Linked DNA regions of Homo sapiens: regions 1, 2 and 4 are each linked to region 3. Evidence: promoter capture Hi-C in human tissues and cell types (Jung and others, 2019). All regions are on one chromosome and are shown on one strand. The core of a region is centred on a gene start or on the middle of the fragment in contact, and the rest is flanking DNA. Distances in the headings are between cores, read along the strand shown.

What was found. Contacts are between HindIII fragments. The study calls those that stand out against the background at their distance.
Region 1: a contact is called between a fragment that was not itself captured here and the fragment with the promoter of ETFA in region 3, in 3 of the 25 tissues and cell types used here (mesenchymal stem cells, mesendoderm cells and thymus).
Region 2: a fragment that was not itself captured here is called in contact with the fragment with the promoter of ETFA in region 3 in 1 of the 25 tissues and cell types used here (mesenchymal stem cells).
Region 4: a contact is called between a fragment that was not itself captured here and the fragment with the promoter of ETFA in region 3, in 1 of the 25 tissues and cell types used here (dorsolateral prefrontal cortex).

Annotation. Positions count from the first base shown.
Region 1 is chr15:76,614,412-76,617,111 of GRCh38, reverse strand. The region is part of intron 22 of SCAPER (S-phase cyclin A associated protein in the ER); the gene reads left to right. Among named protein-coding and RNA genes, the nearest start is that of MIR3713, 29 kb to the right of the region's middle. The HindIII fragment of the contact is 9,427 bases long and covers 1-2,700 here.
Region 2 is chr15:76,664,051-76,666,870 of GRCh38, reverse strand. It overlaps SCAPER (S-phase cyclin A associated protein in the ER), which reads left to right. Exons shown (of 32, transcript NM_020843.4): 21 at 1,082-1,218. Among named protein-coding and RNA genes, the nearest start is that of MIR3713, 79 kb to the right of the region's middle. The HindIII fragment of the contact is 5,919 bases long and covers 1-2,820 here.
Region 3 is chr15:76,309,954-76,312,734 of GRCh38, reverse strand. ETFA (electron transfer flavoprotein subunit alpha) reads left to right here and starts at 1,266. Exons shown (of 12, transcript NM_000126.4): 1 at 1,266-1,385. The coding sequence starts at 1,347. RefSeq lists enhancers at 644-693, 754-803, 1,013-1,513, 1,514-2,014. The HindIII fragment of the contact is 24,969 bases long and covers 1-2,781 here.
Region 4 is chr15:76,645,885-76,648,692 of GRCh38, reverse strand. The region is part of intron 21 of SCAPER (S-phase cyclin A associated protein in the ER); the gene reads left to right. Among named protein-coding and RNA genes, the nearest start is that of MIR3713, 61 kb to the right of the region's middle. The HindIII fragment of the contact is 3,243 bases long and covers 1-2,808 here.

The sequences.
Region 1 (2,700 bases), core at 154-2,653, 300 kb before region 3:
AGGGGTGGAAATATTTACAACAAAAATGATAAAGAGCTCATGTAATATATAAATCAATACCTTGTATAAATTAATATGAGCAAGATCATTCATCAGTAGGAGAAAATATTGGATATGATCAGATAATACAAGGAAAAGGAAGTTAAAAGTGCCCAATTTGTTTTACTTTTGAAATTCCAAACTACTTAATTGGATTTTTAAAAATTATGTTTATAGACATTTTAATGCTGTGAGGAAATGCTTATGATGATTGAAAACTTGTAATTTTGATACAGTATGAGCTTTTTACATTAAAATGATAGAGGCCCAAAAAGGTAGTAATGCTACTTAAATTCAAATTTCCATATACATCTTCCTAAAAACTATATATATCAACAAGGAAAGCAAATTAAGTCATCAGTACTTCATATCTATACTATATTTAGGAGACATAGATGGCTACGACTGTACTTTTTTTCATTTTTTAAAATGGTGATGAAATACATATAGCAAAATTTACTATCTTACTCATTATTAATACAGTTTAATGATATTAAATACATTCATATTGTTGTGTAGCTATTACATCATCCATCTCCAGAACTATTTTCATCTTATAAAACTATAACTATACCCATTAAACAATAATTTCCCATACCTCCTGTTCCTAGCACTTGGCAACCACCATTCTACTTTCTATTATTATGATTTTGACTACTCTGGGTAACTCATGTTAAGTGTAAATATACAGTATTTGTCTTTTTGTGATAGGCTTATTTCATTTATCATAATATCCTCAAGATTTATCCATGTTGCACCAAGGATAAGAATATTCATCCTTTTTAGGGCTGAATAATACTCCACTATATGTGTTGCTTATCCATTAATCTGTCATTAGACATTTGGATTGCTTCCACTGTTTAGCAATTATGAATAATGCTGCTGTGAACATGGGTATACAAATATCTCTTTGAGTCCCTGTTTTTAATTATTTTCTGTATATATCCAGAAGTAGAATTGCTAGATCATATGGCAAATCTATTTTTAATATTAATATATTGAGGAACCAGCACACTGTTTTCCACAGTAGCTATACCATTTTTTACATTCTCACCAGCTCTGCACAAGAGTAACAATATCTCCATGTCCTCACCAGTACTTGTTATTTTCTGCTTTTTTTGATAGTAGCCATCCATATAGTTGAGATAGTATCTCATTTTAGTTTCGGATTGCATTTACCTAACGATTAGTGATGTTGGACATCTTTTCGTGTGCTTTTTGGACATTTGTATATTCTTTTTTTTTTTTTTTTTGAGATGGAATCTCGCTCTGTTACCCAGGCTGGAGTGCAATGGTGGGATCTCACCTCACTGCAACCTCCAGCTCCCGGGTTCAAGTAATTCTCCTGCCTCTGCCTCTCGAGTAGCTGGGATTACAGGTGTGTGCCACCGTGCCCAGCTAGTTTTTTGTATTTTTAGTAGAGATGGGGTTTCACCATGTTAGCCAGGATGGTCTCAATCTCCTGACCTCGTGATCTGCCTACCTCGGTGTCCCAAAGTGCTGGGATTACAGGTGTGAGCCACCGTGCCTGGCCTCATTTGTGTGTGTGTGTGTGTGTGTGTGTGTGTGTGTGTGTGTGTCTGTGTGTGTGTGTATGTATATATACACATACAGACACATTTGTTTTTGAGATGGACTCTTGCTCTGTTGCCAAGCTAGAGTGCAGTGGCGCGATCTCAGCTCACTGCAATCTCTGCCTCCCGGGTTCAAAGGATCCTCCCACTTCAGCCTCCCAAGTAGCTTGGGACTACAGGAGTGTGCCACCAACTCGGATAATTTTTGTAATTTTTTGTAGGGAGGGGGTCTTACCACGTAGCCCAGGCTGCTTTTGAACTCCTGGGCTCAAGCAATCCGCCCCCCCTCAGCCTCCCAAAGTGCTATTACATCTTCTTTAAATGCTTGGTAGAATTCACCAGTGAATCCATCAAGTCCAAGGCTTTTCTTCAACGAGAGATTTTGATTACTGATCTACTTAATTGTATGTCTTTTAGGTCTTCTATTTCTTCATCATTAGATTTTGGCATATTTTGGGTTTCTAGGAAGTGGTCTGTTTTGTGTAGGTTATCCAATTTAGTGCCATACAGTTGTTAATAGTACTCTCTTTGAATCCTTCTTATGTATTCATAAGTAGTAAGATCAGTAGTAATGTGCCCACTTTCATTTCTGAATTTAGCAATTAGTATCTTTTCATAGTCAATCTAGCTAAAGGTTTGTCAGTTTAGTTTGTCTTATGGAAGAACCAGCTGTTGGTTTCATTGATTTTTCTCTATTTTAAAAAATTCTGTTTCATTTATCCCTGTACTAGTCTTTATTATTCTTTCTGAAGGAAATAATAAAGCTTTGGGTTTAGATTTTTCTTCCTTTTCTACTTTGTTAAATATAAATGTTTATAAATGTCCCCCTTCTTTCACTGTGTCTCATGCATTTTGATATGTTGTGCTTTCATTTTCATTTGTCTGTATTTTCTGATTTTTCTTTGACTACTTTTGTGATTCATTGATTGTGTAAAAATGCGTTATTTTTCACAAATTTGTGAATTTTTCAGGTTTGTTTTTTTGTTACAAATTTCTAACTTCATCCTGTTGTGGTCAGAGAATACACATTGTATGACATCTATCTTTGTGAATCTATTGAGTCTTCATTTGTTTGTTTTTGTTTTTG
Region 2 (2,820 bases), core at 231-2,730, 350 kb before region 3:
TAACAGGAGGGAAGAGAGTGTACGGGCACATATGCACATTGTTTGATACATTTAGCTGTGGGAGTGTGTGGAAGCTCTCGTCTGAATAATGCTGTTTTCCTTAATCAAATAAACATAGTCATGAACTGAGAGATGGGGTTAGGAGATGACGGATATTGGAGATTTAAGGAGAGAGTCTAAAATAATTTTTAGCAAGGCAAGTGTGTAGATTAACTAATGTAAAGTTGCTTGACTGCCTGGGAATACTAGAGGCCACTTGAGGTGTAATTTCATAAATTTAAAGTTTGTAATTATAGCCACATTAATCTGCTTCAGACATAGGCTCAGAATAGGGAGAGAGTTGGATTTAGGATTGGGATTTTGCCATGCATGTATGAAAGAAGAAAGGGGGAAAAGAGTTGAGCACAGGCAACAGAATGATTATAGTGATAGGCCATAAAATCTAAGATGGATAAGGAGGGGAACTTGACCAAACACTATGTGCTCTTGCTGAACCAAAGTTTTGCTGTGGATACCCACATTCCACTTTCTCATCTCTAGGATGTGTTTTCTGAGATGACCTTCTTTTTCCTTCCTGCAGCCTCACCCTACTCACAGGCCAAATATACTTACCTAATATCCGTATGTTCACATTTTATCCTTTCTTCAAGGGATAGCAGATATGGTGCTTCCTTGCTGAAGTTTCCCCCTCTTCCGCCTAGTGAACAGTGATCTTGTTTCCCTCTTCGGGTTCTTAACGGCACTCTAAATCTCTGATTGGCTTGGTATTATAGATGATATTATAGTTTTGTGAATATATTTTACCTTTCCTACTCTACTTGTGTGATATCTTGGTAGGGTTTATGTCCATGTAGCCTTAGCATTGGCACAATTGATATGCAATGAAGTGAAGTCAGTGATGTAAAATCCTTAAGTAAAACAGTTTCTTCAACGTTTTCCATAACAATTGTAGAAACCAGTGTATTACGGAGATTACTTTTAGTTTCATCAAATGTCTTAAACTCACTGTAGTCTATAGCAATCCTATATTATATTTAAATGATCATCCTCATTATTATTATTTTATTTATTTATCTTGCAGGAGCATCTTTCCTTGAAGAAGTACATTATTGACATTGTGGTTGAAAGTACAGCTCCAGCAGAAGCTTTGAAAGATGGAGAAGAGCGGCAAAAAAATAAAAAAAAAGCCAAAAAGATAAAAGCCCGGATGAACTTCAGGTACCTTAAATACCCTTAAAAGCAAAAGAAAAACTTTTAGTGATGTATCTTTTAATGTAAATCCAAGGAAGACAAAAAAAGTTTAAAGTTGTTTGCTTCATGAAAGCCTTGGAAATAACACTGATGAGCCTAATTTATAGCCACTTTCCTTGATTGAGAAAGAAAACTGCATATCGATCTAAAGCCCTTGCTTTCACCTGTTAAGAGCTCTTCTTATAATTGGATGCCAAAGCTCTGCCAAACTTGTGCCTCCTCCAGCATACAATAGTATGTTTAAGTATGTGTAAACCAAGCCTATTTTTCTTTCCAACTATTGATTTTTAAATGAAGTATCAAAGAAAATCAATAGCAATCAACAAATAGAAGTCTACTGGCTGTAGTGTCAAATCCCATGACTAGGCTTAATCAATTTGGTTGCCTGTCACAACAAGAAAAAGTTCAAGAAATATCTTAAAATGGAAAGTGAGTTGTCAGACCTGTAGTTTATCATCAGCCTCCAAAGTGTCATCTGAAGATCAGACAGCTGTGTAGTACATCATTACCTCACAAGCTTTGAGTGTCATCTGATGACGGATGAGTCCGGTTCGAGGACACAGAGATAGCTCTGCTTTAGCAGATAATCCTTTGCTATTCAAGGGCAACTATTCTGAATATGTCCGTATACTTTTACTACTAAGTGTCTCAAAGATGGAGAAGCTTGACCCATGGGATTATAGGAATATAGAACGTACAATAATAGTGAACAGTGCAGTTATCTCTCTGTAGTTTCAGTGTTTAGATAATGATCAATCTAGGTGTCTATTTCAATTTACATAATCAATGATAACTTCAGAGTGCTCATTTAATCAAAGAATAGAAAAGGCTTTTTTGATTTTAGTTTTTGAAGTTAGTCCAGATTTCTCAGAATAGTTTTACGGTGTATTTTAGAGCATTACTGACCTTCATTTCTAGTTTATCCTGAGAACTTGCAGACCTCTTGATACTTTTGAATGTTTTAAGGGCCTGTTTTTTGAACCTGTCTATTTTTAATGTTCACATTCTCTTGGTGAGCTCCCTGGTTCTGCGGCTATAAATACCTCTACTTGCCAATGACTACCAATTTTATATCTTCAGCTTTACTCAAACTTAGTATGTCCAAAACAAACCTGCTCTTTCTTCTTGCCACAAAAACCTACCTCATTTCATAGTCTTCTCTATATCAGCAAATGAATACTTTATTCTAGTTGCTTAGGCCAAAACCATTAAAGTCATCCTTGATCTGTCTTTCTCCTACACCTCACATCCAATCTAACTGCAAATGTTAGCTTTGCTTTAAAAATATATTCAGAATTTGACAACGTCTCTCTAACTTCACTGCTTTCCCCTGATCCAAAGCTTCAGTCAGCTCTTACCTGGATTGTTATAGTAGCCTTCTGACTAGTCTTGTTTCTGCCCTTGTATATTCTAAACACTGCAGCCACAACAGACCTGCTAAAATGTAAGTCACAGCCTGTCGCTGCTCTTGTCAAAACCTCAAGGATTTTATAGTTCAGGTTTCCTCTTCCTAGAAGGTTCTTCTCACATACATCCATACAGCTGGCTTCCTTGCTTCCTTCAGGTCTT
Region 3 (2,781 bases), core at 17-2,516:
TGGGGAACAGTGAGAGAAGAGGGCAGTGGGAGGAGAGGGAGCCACCATAGGGCTTTGAGCAGAGGTCATGATCAGTCCATCAGTTTGGAGAAGAGGCTTCTGGAAACATGGGCAGAAACAGAAAGACCAGTTAGGAGGCTTTGCAATGATCCAGGCGAGAGAGGACAGGGTCCTGAGTGAAGGTGATACCAGCAGAGGAGCAAAGGGGTGTTGGAGGATATTGCTGGATTCTGGTTATCTTTTGAAGGTAGAGTCAACGGGATTTGTTGATAGACTAGATAACATTGGAAAGGTAGGTTGTTGCTGAATTGGGAATTGAGACAATTTCTGAACATACCACTTCCCTCTTAAAAATTTCGTGTTAAAGTCCAGACTCATTAGCAGTCATTTATTCATTTGCTTATTCATTCAACACATACTGATTGAATGCCTAGTATGGACCAGGCATTGTGCTAGGTGTTGCAGGTAGACACAAAATTTAAAAGTAGGGCATACTGGCCGGGCGCGGTGGCTCACGCCTGTAATCCCAGCACTTTGGGAGTCCGAGGCGGGCGGATCACGAGGTCAGGAGATCGAGACCATCCTGCCTAACACTGTGAAACCCCGTCTCTACTAAAAATACAAAAAAATTAGCTGGGCGTGGTGGCGGGCGCCTGTAGTCCCAGCTACTCGGGAGGCTGAGGCAGAAGAATGGAGTGAACCCGGGAGGCGGAGCTTTCAGTGAGCTGAGCTCGCGCCACTGCACTCCAGCCAGGGTGACAGAGGGAGACTCTCTCTCTCTCAAAAAAAAAAAAAAAAAAAAGGGCATACTTTCTGCCCTTACAGATCTTCAGTCAGATGGGTGACACAGACAAGTACTTAGGTTATTACAACCCATGTGACAATTGCTACCATGGGGAAATACAGGGGGAAATAGGGGCATATAGGAAAGGTATCTAATTGGAATTGGCAAGGCTCCACTCGTACCTTACCCCGAGGTCAGCTCAGTTTTGAAGTTCACTCTAGCAGTGCTGACCATTGCGGGGCTGTGAGACAGTACAGTCTGAGCTCGGTCATCAGCGGGTGGCCAGCTTTGTCTCTGCCGCTCCGCGGCCCGGGCTTACTCGAAGGTCCCCGGGGAATAGCCTCACCTTTGCCCCACTTCCCAGTCTAGCCCCTAACTTCCCGCCGTCTATTGGCTGCGCAGCCGCCCAATGGGCAGGCGGAAACCGCGGGCTCGTGCTCCCGGCCTAGGGCGTCTTATCTCGTTCGCGCGTCTCGCGAGCATTAGGTGACTGGCTGAGGCGGCGCCAGTTGGCCGGGCACGGGGCTGCTGTAAGGCCGAGGTTGCGGCGGAAGCGGAGACCATGTTCCGAGCGGCGGCTCCGGGGCAGCTCCGGCGGGCGGTGAGTCCGGACTGGGAAGGCGAACCCAGGGACGGCCCCCCGTCAACCCGCCGTCCCTATGGGGTCTTGCAAAGATCACTGGCCCCCTCAGATTCGACCAGCCCTCGCGCCCGCAGGCCGGTCCCCGCCTGGGACTTGGGTCCAAAGTTCTGGGGCCTACCCTGGACTCCCTGCGGAACGCCAGTTCGGGGCAGAAGTCAGAGGTTTGGGGTCAGGGTGACCCCGAATGATGTGAATTTGCGCGTCTGCTGCCCCTTCTTCTGGCCCACTCTCTGCCCTGCCGTTTCCCACCTTTGTCGGTCACTCTGGGCACTTTCGGGCCGCCAGGTCCTCCACACTTGCTCCACACCCGAGGGAGCAAAATGTCACCGGGGAATGCCCTGTTGGGGAAAGTTTCAAACCTAGATTCCTCCCGGAGGCCGGCATTTCTGGAAGAATTAAACACTTTGGGCGCATCGTGGCTACTCCGACCCACTCACTGTCAAGGGCGGGGGTGGGGTGGGGTGGGAGGCTGCGTGGCCAGTTATGGAAGCTGGTTCTGCTTTCTGGTTTATGGAGCAGGGCTGAATTTAGGTGATTGTATTTGTAAAACCTGCGATCCGATTTGACAGCTTTAGCCAGTTTTGAAAGGCAGACGTCTTTTTATATGCTTCAGGCTGACCTGCTTTTAACCAGCAGATTGTAGATTAGGTTAACTGGTGACAGTGGTACATTTTCAGTGTTTCATTAGTGACAAACCACATTTCTCTCTTCTGTTGTGAGAAGGACTGATAGGAAACATATTTTCCTTCTCATGCTGTGGGAAAGGAGTATTTGGAGACTGACCAGTCACAAGTCAAGTAACAATAATTTATATTGTGGATTGTGTAGTTTTCCTAGTTTACATTTAGGTGAAATGAGAAACAAGATTGGTAAACTTGGGTCAGAAACTTACCTGATGGTTTGTACCTTTTCTCCTTTTTTTTTTTTTTTTTTTTTTTCTGGGCATGGATATTTTCCCATCCACTCCTGGGATTTTTCTCTCTGAGGCATAGCTGGAGCTCTTTCTAGATGTCTGTAGACATTAGACTTTTGTTTGTTTGTTTGTTTGTTTGTTTAAGAGACAAGGTCTGGCTCTGTTTCCCATGCTGGAGTGGAGTGCAGTGGCACGATATGGGCTCACTGCAACCGTCGCCTCCCAGGTTCAAGCGATTCTCCCACCTCAGCTTCCCGAGAAGCTGGGATCACAGGTGCGCATCATCACGCCTGGCTAATTTTTTTTTTTTTTTTTTTTTTTTTTTTGTAGAGACGGGGTTTCCCCATGTTACCCAGGCTGGTCTCGAACTCTTGTCCTCAAGTGATCCACCTGCCTCGGCCTCCCAAAGTCCTGGAATTACAGGCCTGAGCTACCGCACCT
Region 4 (2,808 bases), core at 167-2,666, 340 kb before region 3:
GCTGCTTTTTTATTAAAAGGAAATGTTACTGAGGACTTCCTTATTCTTACTATCTGCCTAAATAATTTCTTTCTAGCTCCTCTATCACTGTGCTGCCCAGGCAGGTTGGGAACACTTCTTGTTATGGTTTCCTTTGTGTTTATTCTGTTTGATATTCATTTAGCTTTTTGAATCTGTGAGTTTATATTTTACCCCAAATTTGGATAAATTTTAGCCATTGTTTCTTGAAAAAGTTTTTTCTGCCTCAGTCTATTTTTCTTCTATTTTCTGATTCCAGTTGTACTTAATACAGAACATTTTATATTGTCCCATAGGTCAGTCTTTTTTCTCTCTAGTTTAGATAGTTCTGTGTCCTATGTGATCTTTTTTTTCTACTGTGTCTCATTTGCTTTTAAAATCATCCAGTGACGTTTTTATTTCATGTGTTATATTTTTCATCTCCAGGAGTTCCATTTGGTTGATTTTATAGTTTCAGTTTCTCGATATTTCTTGTTTTTTTTTTTATGTTTTCATTTAATATGTTTATGAATTGACTTGAAGTCCATTATATCTGTCATTCCTTTTCACGCTGATTTTTCTCCGAGTATGGCTTATATTTTCTGCCTTTTATGCTTAGTAATTTTGTTATTAGTATTTTATTTTTTTCATATATTGGACAGTATAAATGCTACATTGCTCTATGTCTGGGTTTTATTGTTTTCTTTAAGAGAATGTAGAATTTAATTCTGTAATGCATTTTTTAAACTTGTACGTTTGCTTTTGTCTCTGAAAATACGGTTTTAAACTTTGTTTGACATAGAGTAACCTTTAATCCTAGGGCTCTATTGTTCCTCCTTCTAAGGTATGTCCTTTGTGAACTCTCTACAGAATGACTAGGATGTTCAATGAGTATCCTCAAATATGACAGCTGAAATGCAAACATTTCCCAGCTTTATGAAAGCTCCAGTAATTGTTCTTGTTCAGCTTACAGTTCCTGGATAGTTATTTTTTCCCCAGTTTTGGAGATTCTTGCCTGCTCATTCAGCAGATTAACATGGCCAGAGACTCAGTGGGGCCTCTCTGAAGATTTGTAGACCTTCTCTGCATACATCTTTTCACTCTGCTACTCTGCCCCACAAATTCCAACTTTTTCTTAGCTCAGACTTACATGTATGCTCTGTTTTGGTTACTTAACCCTTCCCCGATATGTAGCTATCTGGAAAGTGCCTTCAGGCACAAAGGGTGAGACAATCATAGGACTTATTTCACTTGCTTTCTTTTTCTGAGGGATTCCAGTCCTGTGCTGACAGTTGTCCATACATGAAAAAAAATCATATATTTAAGAATTTCTAAGTTGCTTGTAGTAGAAAGGACAATATGATACTAGTTACTCAATCATGGCTGGAAGCAAAAATTGTCAAGGCCTTAATAAAATAATAACCTCCACTTCAACCGTCTCTTTTCCCAACTTAATTTTTTACCAATGCACTTAACCATCATCTAAAGTACTGTGTATTTCAACTGTTTATATATTTACACATTAGCTTTCTCCTACTAGGATATAAATTTCAAGAGGATTTTTGTTTTTAGTTTTCTGCACATGGTAGGTGTCCAGTAAAAATTTGTGGAAGAATTAGATGAGATTGGATTGTGAGCTTTGTGGTTCTTATCACTAAGATTTCTTTGGCCTTTTAAGAAGGGAGAAACAAATTGCATATTACTATCATAAATTGGAATTCAGGCTCAAGGCATGATGGTCTGCCCCAGGTTTCATGATACAGGTAGTGAAGATAATGCTTTTAGGACCTGACTCAAGATGAATTAAAACTAAAGATACTTGATTTTTCTCCAAGCAGTGGGATGAGGGAAATGTTCTACAGGCAAAGCCAGAACTAGCATATATTTTAAACTGGATATGTGTTCTAAAATTAATTAGTAGGGACCTATATAACCTATATGTGATGAAGAACTGTGAGAGTACATGTGGTTGCTTGAAAGTTTTGATAGGCAGATTTAATTTGGAAAAGGAGTCGCTGTGAGTCAGAACTTTGCTGCTGCAATTTAGGTTGAAAGAATTCATAGTTTGGCAAAGAGGACTAAGAAAAGCAAGATAGGCAATAAAGTTCTAATCATTGGACTGTGTTTTTGTACAGAAGGATGAAGATAAAGGAACTAGATTTGTGTAATATATTGCCATTGAGCTGCAGTTTGTGTAGAGGTAGAAATAGGAGAGGAGAGAGAGCTGAAAGAGCAGCATGGGAATTCATAGTTTTTCACTGTATAATAGCTGGACCTCTGTCTGCAGTATTAGCAGCTTGGACATCAGCTTCAGTGTCCAGTGGTAATCACTAGGCTAATAGACTTCCTATTTTTAACAATAATTGACTATCAAGAACATATTCTGAAATGGGGCAGAGAGAGGAATGAGAGGATGGGGGGTGCGTGTGTGTGTTTGTGTATCTACATTCAGAGTTAACCCTTAGTATCTGTGGGTTCCACGTGCGGAGCCTGCAGATATGGAGGGCTAACTGTACTATGTCTTTTTATATAAGGGACTTGAGCATTTGCAGATTTTGGTATCCATGGGGATCCTGGAACCAATCCTTCGTGGATATTTAGATATAAATTTAGATATGGATAAACACACAGGTCTGTGTTAAATTTACATTGGTACAAGAATTGACATAGCGTCAATTTTTGTGTTAGAATTGACCAGAGAGCCTGACCGTGGAGTAGGATACCTAAGTTGAACAGAGGAGAGGCAGGGAAAGACATAAGTTTTAACAAATATTACAGGATTCTGACAGAACTTTGAGGTGAAATCTAATG